Regions from separate parts of the Homo sapiens genome. Here regions 1 and 3 are each linked to region 2. Evidence: promoter capture Hi-C in human tissues and cell types (Jung and others, 2019). All regions are on one chromosome and are shown on one strand. The core of a region is centred on a gene start or on the middle of the fragment in contact, and the rest is flanking DNA. Distances in the headings are between cores, read along the strand shown.

The links. Contacts are between HindIII fragments. The study calls those that stand out against the background at their distance.
Region 1: a fragment that was not itself captured here is called in contact with the fragment with the promoter of CELF4 in region 2 in 2 of the 25 tissues and cell types used here (H1 embryonic stem cells and dorsolateral prefrontal cortex).
Region 3: a fragment that was not itself captured here is called in contact with the fragment with the promoter of CELF4 in region 2 in 3 of the 25 tissues and cell types used here (H1 embryonic stem cells, liver and lymphoblastoid cells).

Annotation. Positions count from the first base shown.
Region 1 is chr18:37,483,312-37,487,938 of GRCh38, reverse strand. CELF4 (CUGBP Elav-like family member 4) reads left to right here. Exons shown (of 13, transcript NM_020180.4): 2 at 2,332-2,414. Among named protein-coding and RNA genes, the nearest start is that of SNORA111, 19 kb to the right of the region's middle. RefSeq lists an enhancer at 3,374-4,420. The HindIII fragment of the contact is 6,201 bases long and covers 1-4,627 here.
Region 2 is chr18:37,564,276-37,568,860 of GRCh38, reverse strand. CELF4 (CUGBP Elav-like family member 4) reads left to right here and starts at 3,063. Exons shown (of 13, transcript NM_020180.4): 1 at 3,063-3,505. The coding sequence starts at 3,220. It overlaps LOC124904288 (a long non-coding RNA gene), which reads right to left and starts at 2,584. Exons shown (of 2, transcript XR_007066345.1): 1 at 2,472-2,584; 2 at 2,173-2,282. RefSeq lists an enhancer at 3,016-3,519. The HindIII fragment of the contact is 29,207 bases long and covers 1-4,585 here.
Region 3 is chr18:37,686,017-37,690,067 of GRCh38, reverse strand. No RefSeq gene overlaps it. Among named protein-coding and RNA genes, the nearest start is that of MIR4318, 31 kb to the right of the region's middle. The HindIII fragment of the contact is 5,790 bases long and covers 1-4,051 here.

The DNA of each region.
Region 1 (4,627 bases), core at 1,606-4,105, 81 kb after region 2:
GAGGATCCTGAAAGATTTTGGTTCACAATAAAGTTGTGAGCTCTCTCAAAAACTGTGGCAGAAATTCCTGGAAGCTGGACAAAAGCAACAGATTCTTTTTCCTCTGGAATCCTTTTCTTGTTATCTTGGGCCATGGAAACAATATGGTCATTTCCTCCTCCTACTCCTCCTCCTCTTCCTCCCTCCCCTCATCCTCCTCCCCTCAAACCTGCCCCTGACCTTGTCCCAAGCTGGCTTGCCTGCGTACAGCAGAGGCAGTGGCCACCTCCTGGTTGCAGGCAGAGGACAAGGCCAACAAGGGGACGGGAGGAAAGACGCCCCCGGGAGAAGCAGGCGGCAGCACGAGGGACGACGTCACGGGGGCCTCTGACCGCTATTCATTTCAGTCCCCGGGTGTCTCCATCAATAACAGTCTGCCAGTGACCAGGAGGGAGGAGGACGGGAGAGGGAGGAGGAGTGATCTGGGGTCTGGAGGAAGGGAGACATGAGACAGAGAGGGAGAGAGATTTCTCCGAAGCTTCTCCAAGCCTGAGGCAGGAGTTGGAGGTGGGGAAGGCAGAGGGGGCACTGGGAGCTGAGAGTTTCTGTCTCCCAGGCTTTTCTCCCTGTTTCCTTCTTTCATCTCCGTTCCTTTCACAAATACATTCCCTTTCCACCTCCTCTCTGAAGCCAGAAAGGGAAGGGAGGCAGGAATTTCTACATTGGAAGGGGAGGAAAGGGGTTTTCACTGGGTACAGGCTGGTTGGTGGAAGAGTCAGGAGCTGCAGAGGACACCGGGAGCATTCTGTGGCCGGCAACCAGAGTCTAAAGCAAGCCTGGTGACAAGGGCTGACATAGGTACCATACTGGCACCAGCAGCCTGTGGGCCTCATGAGAGGAGGGCTTGGGCCACGAGGTCTGGCACAGAGCCTGGCACAGAGCGAGCACTCAGGAAATAAATGGCCATGGCAATGACCAAATGGCTGGCTGTGGAGACTGGCTGGGGATGGACTAGACCAGCCAAGGAGGGCTGCCTGGAGTAGGTAGAACTTGATCAGATTCTTGAAAGATCAATGGGTTTCGGAGAAGTGAACATGGGGAAGAGGGGTATACCAGGTGAGGAGGTGGTGAGAGCAGAGGAATGCGGGGGCAGAAGGGAACACAGGTTGTTGGGGATGTGGCCTTGGATAAGATCACGTGAGAGAGAGAGGAACAAGAGAGGCAGCCATTCCACAGGGTGCCTTCTCTGGGGCCATGGGTGGCTTGAAAAGGTCTGAGGTGACTGTTCACCAGAACATTCAAGCCTGCTTCCGCCATAGTGAGCTTTTGGGCTTTCCCCATGGTTTTGAGCCTTGCAGGCCTCCCAAGCCACCTTCAGCCACATCTGCAGGCAGAGAAAGAAGGCCTGACACTGGGCATGCTGGACAGCTTATGGGAACTCCCAGAAAGACTCCCCCATCCCCACTCTCTTGGCCTTGTCACCACACCTAAAGGACAGCACTGAAAAGTCACCCCTTGAGTATATTCTTCTGTCAAATCCGGATTCCCTGGCGAGGAGGTGGGGTGTGGCCCAGTTAGAATTAATCAGTGGGAGAGCTAGACTGAGCCTTCTCAGTTCGCAGGTGGGGAGACTGAGGCCAGAAAGAGGATGTGATTTGTTAAGGTCACCTAGGGAATTAAAGGCAGAGCAAGGGTGGTCTAGTGCTGTAAGTCGGTGGCCTGGATATGCCCTAGAAGCCCTCTGACTTGGAGGGGTGTGAAGACCATCTGTCACTGCAAATCAAACAACAGGGGTTGGGACAGGGGACACAGGGTACGTTTATTTTATTAGGAGGGCCTGGCTTGGGGTCCTCCTTACAGACTGAGCCTTTATTTGTAAGGCTTAGAGGAGCCCTCCACCATCCCTGAGGGAGCAGCGCCCAGCACTCCTACCGGCCAGAAAGACAGCCCATGGTCAAGTGTGGCTAGAGGTGCTGGGGGTGAGGGGTGGAAGCTGCCCCTTCTAGGAAGCGTAGGGGCTGGCGCTGAAACAGGGCAGAGAGGTCTGAGGCACCAGGGTACGGGGTAAGGAGAGAACCGTAAGGAGAGGGGGGTGTGGTGGGGGGAAGATGCAGGGTGGGGAGACTCCGCGGAGGGAGCAAAATAGAAAAGCAAAGGGAGGTACGAGAGGCAGACAGCCGGGAACACCGAGAGGCAGAGAAGCTCCGAGAACAGTGCACGGGAGAGAAAGAGAGGTGGGGACAGGGACCGAGCGGCAGGGAGGGGCGGGAGCCTGGAGGGCGGGCGGCAGGGCGCGTCGGCGGGCCCGGGGGCGCCCCACTGACCCTTCTTGGCGCTTGCTTTCCTCCCCAGGCTGCGCCTTCCTCACCTACTGCGAGCGTGAGTCAGCGCTGAAGGCCCAGAGCGCGCTGCACGAGCAGAAGACTCTGCCCGGGGTAAGTGGCGCCCGCCGTGGCGCAAGCGGCCGACGCGCCGACAGGGGGCGACTTCGGGAGGCCGGGCGGCGGCGCGGCGCGCGGGGAGAGGACGGCAGGGCGCCCGCCGCCCCGCCTGAGCTCGGGAGCCCGCGCGCCCCCCCAAATCCCTGGGCTCTCGGCCGTCCGGGCCCAACGGGATCCGGGACAGGGGCCCCACTTGGCCGTGGCCGTGAAGTTCCTGCGCGGGCAGCCTGGGGCGGGGGAGCGGCGCGTCCCGGGTCCCCGGAGCGGGAGCTGCCTCCGCCGGGCCCGCGGGCCGCGTGCGCGATCGAGTCCGCCCATCGAGTCGACGCGGGCCGCTCTAGTGGGGGAGGAGGGGGCCGGCGTGGGAGGGGGCGCCGCAAGTGAGATCACCGCGGTTTATTTAAGGAGCCAGCCCTCGTCTTTGATAAACTATCGCGCCTCGGCCCTGGTTTATAGCTTCTGTGCGGGGGAGAAGAGAATTATTTATGGCCCCCCTAACTGGGTGTGATATCAGCCATGGCTATTATCGAGGCTAGTTCATCACCATAAAATAAGAAGTATTCTTCGGGTCAAGGGTCTGCGCGGTCTCTCCTGTGGGTTCAGAGAGATGGGGCGGTGGTGAGGGGGGAGAGATATACGGCTGCTGAGTATCTAAGGATAAATGGAAAGATGTGTGTTTGTGGGCATAATTTAAAGATTTTCTAAATATAGTGTTGACGCTTATACAATGGACACTGCAGGGAAGCACATGTGTTCTATAAGTATGCACACCCATGCTTACACATGCATGTTTACATTCTTACCAAGCCAACCGTATGTAAACACACGTTTCCATTTCTACCCCACAGCGGGAAAGGTTAACCAGGTAGACGGAGAGAAAATGCAACCCCGGGCGGGGGCAGCCTTCCTTTGCATCGAAGATCTTTCTTTACTCGTTTAGGGGTGGGGAGAGCTGAATTACACAGGGCCTTCCTTCCATTAAGACAGCCTTTGTATTGTATTTTGGTATTTGTGATTGCAAAGCACGGGGCTGAGTCATCTTAATAACATACCCACAGATGCAAATATATGGAAATCGAGCACCGCACAGATTTTGTGTGAAGCCCAGCTCTGGCAGGGTGGCCATTCCCCAGTTGTTTTTTCAGTTGCGCGGCTACATGCACATATATTATAGTAATTACTTTCTGGGTGCCCTCTGTAAGACGGCAGAAATATGCCTCACATCGCCCCATGTTATGTGTGAAGCATAAAGCCATATTGTAGGATAATCAAAGGCTTCTGAGAAAGGTTTGTGCTGATTAATAAAGTGTTTATGGTACTTTGTTTTGGGGGAGACTGTGACAGATATTTTAGAGCCACCCAAATGGAATAGAAAATACCACATTGTTATGGGAGGCCCTTCATCAGCTTGAGAGAGATTGCTAGGGAGTTTCATGGTGGCTAAAAGCCGGAATCAGAAGGGGAAACAGAAAGAGAGAAGGTGAGAGGGGGAGGTTTAGGATTTTGAAAGGGGAGAGGCTGGGAATTGGGAGTATTTCAGTAGCAAGTGTGGATTGTTGAGGATCTAACATTAACTTGTGGTTGTTTATTTTACATATAATAGAATAGCTAAATGATGGAGTGTATTAGTTCTTTAATAATTTATAGAAATACTTTGATGTTGCAGTAATTACATTAAAGGTCACATATCAAAGGTAATTTGGTTGAGCAGCTGTGATGGTTTCTCAGAAGCAATCAATATCACTGTCCGTGGTGCTGATTTCACCAAGGGGCCTGCCAGATTAAAGAAGGCTTATTACCAGGCAGAAAGGCCCAGGGGAAATCAGGAGCACATTGGAGCGACGCGCCAGCCCCCTTTCCACCCATAATTAACACTGTTCCCCATAATCTGTGCTAATCCTTCATACTGGGAGATCCAGTGGCATTTTTCTGAAATCACAAAGACAAGTTGAGTAAGTCTGAGGGAAAGGGCAAAAAGAAACGTGAGTGTATGTTGGGACGGGGAGGGGGGAAGATAGATAGAGGCCAACAGCAGAGCTGAAACATAGCCTAGAGTCCCCTCGAACACCATCCCTTCTTCAAAGGCTTCACAGGGAAACTCATGGCCTCAAAAACCTCATCAAACAATTCTCGGGGCAGGCACGCCCACCAGAGGGAGGGGCAGGAATAAAAGACCGGATTGCAGCTCGAAGTTCCGAGGGCACATT
Region 2 (4,585 bases), core at 1,814-4,313:
GAAGAGACACCAGGAGGGGCCGTGGTGCACAGGGCAGGGGAGCAGTCCTGGAGGGAACTGGCACTGCACAGAATGGAGGAGTCTTCATGGCATCTGAAATAGCCAGTGCCCCCTTTCATTAACAAGCCCACTCCCTGGCTCACTCCTGCCCAACGATTGCTATTATTTATGTATTGACTATTATTAATAATAACATGAGTAATTAACCCCCTGTGAATAATTTACTTGGACCTAGGGGTGCCTTGGGTGGTGGCAGGAAGAGGAGGGTGAACTTCAGTGACTCTCCCCTGAGCAGTTCCCTTCTTTTCCAGCTGCCCTTAGCTGGCCCCTTTCCCTTTCCGATGTCCGGGCTTTGCTTTCAGGGGTTGAGAGGCAAGGAGAGAAAAACAGACCTCGAGCAGGAATTTACTCTCCTAAACTCCCCTGTGATAGCAGAAAATACATGCCACTCAGCTGTAGGATCCTGGGTGCCATGCACCAGCACCACAGGATGATGTTGGAAGAGATATCTTGGACAGAGTTAATAGCCACTGCTGATGTGTCCTAGGGGACCAGAAGGAGGAGGTCTCAACCTGGTATGGACACACACATATATGCAGTGTGGATACACGCAGGGTCCGTGCAGAGACCCACGCTGCATCCACACAAGCAGGCACACACGGCCAAACCACACACACAAACTCTCCAAGTGCTTAGCAGGGACTTGCCCCCCTTATCAGGGCACTTCAAAGGCACACCAAATACACAACCACCACATGGCAAAGGCTCTATATGTGAGTTTCTGTTCGAGTCATCTACTTGGTCGATTCTTAGACCAGCATACAACACCGGATAACGTAAACCCGGTAAACCAAGTGACGAATTAACCATACTTACACCCGATTCCGGCAAGCAAAGGCAGGAGAAGCTAAAATGAAAGGATGAAGTTCCACAGTTCTAAAAATCATACTTGCTCTTTGGTTTGGGCCCGGGATCCTCAGAGAGAGGCGTCCTGAGCGGACTCGGGGCCTGGGGCTGCGAACCTCGGGCCTCCGGGCCTCCTCCGGCGCTGGAGAGCTCCGTATTGTGCTTGTACCAAATGGGGTTGGCCTGGGTTTGCAGGCAGCTGGGGTCTCATTTCTTTAATTAAAATTGCAGACATATCCTCTAGTAACGTAATGTAATCCGAGGGCAAGAAAAGAGAAACCCTGAAACCCGAAAGTGGCTAGCCGAGGGCCGGCGGGGGTTAGGCCAGCCGCTCAGCCCCGCCGCCCCAGCTCCCCAGCCCCGCAGCCCGCGGGGGAGCGGGCGCGTTATTTCAATTTGCCAGGCTTCTGAAGCGAAGAGGCTGCCCTGAAAAAGCAAACATGAGAGAGGACGGGGTGCAGGTAAATATCATTAACGTGAAAATCTGCTACCCCAGCCAAGTTCACCACCAGTATTCACCCCTACAGGCGGGGCCGCTCGGACCCTGCTCCCGGCTCCGCGCCTGCCACTCCCTTTCCCGCGCAGCCGAGATGCCAGCCCCAGTGGGCCTGGCGGGGAGTCCGGCGGGGTCCGGACCGGGCGGCTCGACCCCCGGTCCCCACGGCAGGAACGACTCAGCCTCGCACCTCGGGAGCTGTAGGTGCCGAAAACGAAACCCGCGGGGGCAGCGCACGCCGCGCGAGTCTCGGTCCGGCGGCAACCCAGATAGCGATTCAGGGGCTTTATTCTTTTGATGGTGATTAAAAAAATATATTCTATTTGAACCCGTAAAGCAGACGAGGGCAAATCAAGCCATCCCCCGCGCTGGCTCACCGGCCACCGCGCCCAGCGCCTTCCTCCCCCTCCGGCGGGCGAGCGGGCAGGGGCGCCCGACTCCTACCTTCCTCCCGCCAGCCACCGGGGGACCAGCCGCGCTCTCCGGGGCGGGGGAGGCCGCCCGGGACGGGGACCCCCACCTTCCGCCTTCGGAAGCGGGTTGGGGCGGGGGTCGGACCCCGAGTCTCTACTCCCCGTCCCTCTGCCCCCCGGCGCGGCCCGACAGCTCCCAGCCCCATCCTGGCAGGTGGCTTGGGTGGCGGTAGATGCCGGGCGGGAGGAAGATGTGGGGCTGCTCTGGCAGGTTGGGGGTGCGAGGAGGAAAAAAAAACAGAGAAAGACACACACAGAGAGACAGGGAGAGAGCGCGCGCGAGAGAGCTCTTGTCTATAGATTTATCCACATAATATATATTTATGTAGCTTTTTTTCTCTCGACACTGATGAATGCGCGCTCGGATCCCCGGGCGGACTCCCTCCAAGCCGGCTCGCTTTTCTAGTCTAAATAAATAAATAAAGCCAGATGGAAGAAAAAAGCGCCCATTCCACCTCCGCCGCCGCCCCGCCCGCCATCCCTGCCTTTGCTTCGCCCGCCTGGCGCCCTAATAGAGCATAGCTTGGTGGATAAAGCCCCCCTACATACCCACACGAAAATAAAAATCACTATTTTTAAAATACAAAAAGTTGCACCTGCTGCTATTACAAAAAGAACCCCCAAAAGGCAAAGAGAGGAGGCCGGCTGCCCGGCTCCTCACGGACACCCGCTCCCCGCGGCCGCCGGGCCCGGAATCTCAGCGCCTCCCGAAGAGCCATGCGCCTGGCGCTATTTATAGCCGGGGGCCGTCTCGGACTGTACCATCGCCACGGCGCGGGGCCGCCGACGGGGGAGGCGCGGTGGCCGCCGCCCCACGCCGCCCTGCCCCCGGCCGCCGCCCGCCGTGGCGCGGGCCCCCACAGCGCGCCCATTCCCGGCCCCCCGCGCCCTCCTCCGCGCGCGCACACTCGCCACCCCCACCCCTGGTCTGGCTGGGAACTTGAACCGGTCCAGCCTGTTTAAACGGAAAGGACAGAGATCCTGTCTGTTCAATGTAAAAAAAAAAAAAAAAAAAAAAAAAAGAAAAAAAGAAAAAAAAAATCAGATCAGACCGAGAGAGAGAGGAGAGAGGGAGAGAGAGAGGGAGAGAGAGAGGGAGAGAGAGAGGAGAGGGAGGGAGGGAGAGAGAGAGGGGGGAGAGCAGAGAGAGAGCGCGAGCGCGAGCGAGCGAGAGAAGAGGAGAAAGAGAGAGAGCAGAGAGCGAGCGGAGAGCGAGGTGTAGAGAAACCGAGGGGGAGAGAACCCGAGTGTGTGTATGCGTGTGCGTGTGTGAGCGCGAGCGAGCGAGAGAGAGGAGCGAGAGAGTGTGAGCGAGAAAGAATAAAAGGAAAGAAGATTTTCTCTATGTATATAAAGATGGCCACGTTAGCAAACGGACAGGCTGACAACGCAAGCCTCAGTACCAACGGGCTCGGCAGCAGCCCGGGCAGTGCCGGGCACATGAACGGATTAAGCCACAGCCCGGGGAACCCGTCGACCATTCCCATGAAGGACCACGATGCCATCAAGCTGTTCATTGGGCAGATCCCCCGCAACCTGGATGAGAAGGACCTCAAGCCCCTCTTCGAGGAGTTTGGCAAAATCTACGAGCTTACGGTTCTGAAGGACAGGTTCACAGGCATGCACAAAGGTGAGTACACCTTTCCCTCCCAACTTTGCCGGGGAGCAGGAGCGGGCTGGCGGGCCGACCGGCCGGCCGGCGACTGACGAGCGGCGGACTAAGCGAGAGGAAGCCTCGGGCGGGCGCGGTGGAGGGAGGCGCTCGGGCAGCGGAGACCAGAGCTGGGGTGCGTGGGGAGCTGTTCGCTGGGGCAAGACTGGGTTTTGGGCGAGGTGCTGATAGGAACGATGCCATGGAGAGAGCAGCGGGCGCCGATGAAGAGAAAGAGAGAGGGGATCGAGGAGACGGGGCTTGGATTTTTGGGTACAGCGACCTGAAAGATGGGGATGGGGAAGGCTGCACCGGTCGAGCCCAGGACGCTGAGCGGACGGACTCGCGGGCTCCTGGCCGGCCGAGGACCGAGGGTGCTGTCCATCGCCGTGGTGCTGAAAATACTAAAGGAGGTGGTCTCCTCATCCTTTGCTCCGGGCTAGAGTAGCAGGAGCGCAGCCGTCTAAAAGGGAGAGAGGTGACAAATTCAAAGAGAAATTTTTATTTAAATGTAACAGTAAACTCTCCCTGTCGAGCTGTGTGCCTCAATAATCTGATTGTGGTGTGAATGGTGGTGTGTGTTGGGGGTGGGGGGGTTGGATGTTTGAAGGAACCAGTGATAAAACCTAAGGCAAGAATTAGCAAGGAACCAGCCATCCCCTGGGTGGAGTGGGGGGTCTGGCAAGCCTGGATAGTCCCCTTCCCAGGAAAGCGGGGCTTTGGGAAAAAAATATGTGTGTGCGAGATTTGCATTTTGAAAGGTGTACCCTAATTTATCCCAAACTCACCATGCAGAGAGCTTTATAGTACATTATTTCTCCCTTGAAGCGATCATTGCCAGTGAGTGCTTGGGGGAGGGGGAGACAGAATAATCAAAGAATTAAAACACAGCAACTTTTTAGGAAAGTGGTCATGGGAATTGTCCGCAGCCTGCCTGTTTTCTCCTTGTTTTATTATCTTTAAAGCAGAGCCCCAAACGTGTTCAGTTGTAGAATGTGTGTGGGTGGCTGGTGGGTGACGAAATTAGCCCAGTGCTCCGCTTCCTAACAGTAATATATA
Region 3 (4,051 bases), core at 611-3,110, 120 kb before region 2:
CACCAGCATCACCACAAATACATGAGTAATGCTTCATGGCCCTGTGACAAGATAAAAAAAAAATATTAATCATCCAAACCTTTTCAAGAGGTCATGACCTAGCAGGAGAAGCAAGAGAAATGTAAGTATTAAAATTATTTTTAAATGAAATTTTCAGCTCCATTATACTCTTATAGGACCACCATCACATATGCGGTCCATCATTGACTGAAACATCTTATAAGTCACAAAATTGTACTCATTTTTAGATTTTTAATTGACTTATAAATTTTCAATATTGGACCTCAAATTATATCTTCAGATTCAATATATATAAAATAGAGTAAGCTTTCTTAAATCAGATTTTATTAAGGCCTCAGAAAACCACTATCACAACCACACATTTTACAAAATTAAAATGAAATATGGAGCCATGCAGTAGCTTATATTATGCCAATTTTGAGAGAAAGAATTTGAGATTTAGAAAGAACAATGATTTTGTTAAGGTGGCACAGTCCCCTGAAAAAGAAGGCCACGTTTGAACCCTATCATTTGAACTTGAACTCTAAGCCCATGCCCCTCCGCCCTGACCTTGCTAATGTAATGGTTCATCTGTCCATAAACAGGTACTTGTTTGAGCACCTACTTGCTATCAAGTTCTAGAAGAGATACAAGATAGGAAGAAAAAAATTACCCAGGCCTTCTGCTGAAGAGGTCATAATCTAGCAGGAGAGGCAGGGGATCTATAAGCATTAAAATTATTTTTTAAATTAATTCAGAAAACATTACCAGATTGTGTGCCAAAGATAAGATTTACATAAGTTCCAAAACAAAATGGGGGATAGATATGGGGAGCCATATGTCAGGGACTCTCCAGGAAAGAATAAAACATTCAAATTAGGAGAGCTTCTTTACAGAGAGTTTATTACCATGGGGCAGGCAGGGTGAAGAGGAAGCAGAAGAGCTAGTGCAGGAACACAGGGACAGTAGCAGTGGAGTTGTGGCCAGCTTCAGGCTGAAGGGAGAAGGAGAGGGAGAAGCTACTGACTCAGAAAGGGAGAGGTCCTCATGTAGGGCAGACCACAGAGAAGGCAGGGACCTTACAGTGGCAGATGGAGGTGATCCCACAGCAGGGAATGAAGCGGGGAAATACTTTATCCCCACTGAAGTCCCTCCTTATTGGCCCAAGAAGCCAGAAGCCAAGGGGCTCACATGCCCATTGACATAATTCATACAGGATATCCTGCAGGTTAGAGGGCAGAGGACAGATGGGGAGTGGATCTGGAGAGCCATGGGAGATATGAGGCATGGGGGACTCTGAATTATAGATGGATCTGAGTAGACAGGGATGAAAACCATCACATCAGGAGCCAGTGTTTGAAGGCAGGATAAAGGTGTGAGTGAGACCAATGGAAGATGGTGGTTGGTGAGAAACCTGGCTGAGGTAGACTGAATGGGCTTGGTAGGAGAAGAGTGGGATTTGAAGTTGGGCCAAACATTCATTTCTTGAATTACAGGTTAAATTTTCAGCACTTAGTAGAATATCAATGAATGATTTTTAAAGAAATACATCAATCCCACCATTAAATACATGGGCATGAGAATCAGGGATGCCAAAAAGGAAAGCCTCTCTAGATCTACATGCAGAGAGGAGTGTTGTAGGTGAACTGGGAGAATATGTTTGGTGTCTTTCATACATTTTCTTCTTCCTGGCCTTTAGTTTTGAAATCTCTGTCCCATTCTTCAGTTATAGCCCAGTGAGGTCCAGGAGATACATATTTCCTTCAAAGAGAGTCTAATTCCAGGCTTTTCTCCCTGCCCTTATCTCAAGCACCAGTCCAAGACATTTCTATTGGGATTACTTAGGGGGAGGGCCTCTGGATGTGGAGAGTGCAGCAGGGCAGAAAAGAGCAAGGGAAGAGCTAAGTAAAAAAGCAAGGTCTCCAAACCCTAGCAGAGGCTCGCCAAGCTGATGGGCTGCTGCCATATCCCAGATCCAAATGCTTCCTCTCCCCAAACCCCACATTAACACTCAGGGCTGGTGCTCTCTACTAGCAATGTAACAGCATGAACATGTTGGTCTCCACGGGACTTTAGGCTGAGACCATTAAACACTCATGGAATGAAGAATGAATTGGAAAAAAAAAATAGGAAAGGAGAGGTGGAAGCGGGGAAGAAAGAATTCTCAAATACCTACTCATCAGCGGGGATGTCCTTACTGACCACATGTGTCTCCCCAGAACAATACAGGGTACTGCTGAAAGACCCGAGAAGAGGACATACTCCAGCTGAGGGACAGGACTGTGTCAAAAGGCAATCACCAAGGAGAATCATCAAAGGGCAGGCTAAACAACACAGAACTGGTCATAAGTGGAGAATGAATGCACAGAGAGCAGAGGTCAGGGGAGTGGTGAATCTGAGGGGCTCAAAGGGTAGGCTATGTTTCAACAAGATGAGTGGATGGAGAAAGGTTCCCAAGTGAAGGCAACAGCGTGAATGAAGACAGGACGTCAGAATAAGCAAGGCTGGTGTCCAGAACATTGAGGAGACAGCATTGCTAACTCTCCCAATTCACATCACAAATATCAACACCTCCTGCCCCAGTACTGCACAAGGCACAGGGGATCTGGAGATTAGGGAGAGTCCCTGCTCTCCAGAAGCTGTAGGGTTACTTCCAGCTCTGAAAATCTAAAAGTGATGATAAACTAGCCAGACTTCTTACCCCACACAAAGATTCCTTCCAGAGAATTCTGGAATTATGGTAGGCTAGCTTCTACTCCAACATCCCCAGATAAAGTCATCTTCATCCACTCTTGGACAATTTTAATTGATAGAATTTCTGGCCAGACGCAATGGCTCAGGCCTGTAATCCCAGCATTTTGGGAGACCAAGGCAGGTGGATCACCTGAGGTCAGGAGTTCGAGACCAGCCTGGCCAATGTGGTCAAACTCTGTCTCTACTAAAAATACAAAAATTAGCTGGGCTTGGTGGCACATGCTTGTAATCCCAGCTACTCGGGAGGCTGAGGCAGGAGAATCGCTTGAACCCAGGAGGTGGAGGCTGCAGTGAACCAAGATCATGCCATTGCACTCCAGCCTAGGTGACAAGAGCAAAACTCTGTCTCAAAAAAAAAAAAAAAAAAAAAAGAATTTCTATTATACAACAACTGAAATCATTCCCACACAACGTTTTTGTGATGAAAACCATCATGATTATGATCATGCCTGTCAATCTCTCCACACCCATTCCTCTCTGTGGATTCTCTCCCAGGACTCCACAAGGATGCTGGGACCGCCACCCTCCTGGGAGGATCTGTGATGACAGCCTCTACTCTTTCTCAGAACAAGACCCCACGTCTGCTCCAGCCTTAGATTCTCCCAGCACTCTGGGCCTCTGTGTTTCAGTCATGGCACAAAGTCCACCTAAGGGTCCAGTCTGGTGGTACAGCACACATTAAATGGCCAGAACCATCATAAGAAATGTCCAGGTGAATATCACAAGAACTCCCACCCACAACTGCTCTCTTTCTCTCCTTATTGACACAATCCTTTGAAAGCTGTAGGGAGTAGAAAATTGCTTCCTTTCTGTTAATCAAGGATACTCTTTAAGATGCTTAAGTACAATACTGTTTAAAAATGGGCAGTTTTATATAAAGGAAGGAAAAAAGTACAGCAGGAATGTACAGTATATCAGATTGAATTAGTTTTTCATGCCACAACATGTAAACAAATCTGTTTAATTAGAACACCTTGTTTTTATTGCATTCTGAGCAATTTTTCAATGATGAGAAAGCAAGACAATGGGGAAGAGATTGTAAAATTTCCCAGAGACACCCAGAGATCTTCTCTACTTCCCCTGATGAGCCCAGCTCCTGGGGGGTTCCCTTGTATTCTCCAGAAGTGCCCTTGGCACCCCCTCTTCCCATTTGCCCCCACCCCCACCACCTTCAAAATAACAACCTCCAATTATAGAGATTTCAACAAATTTTATGCACAGAGGGGAAATGAGATGTGGTCACTGACATGATGAAAGCTTGGAACCCCAAGAAATGAAGAGCAGGAAATCCTCAAAG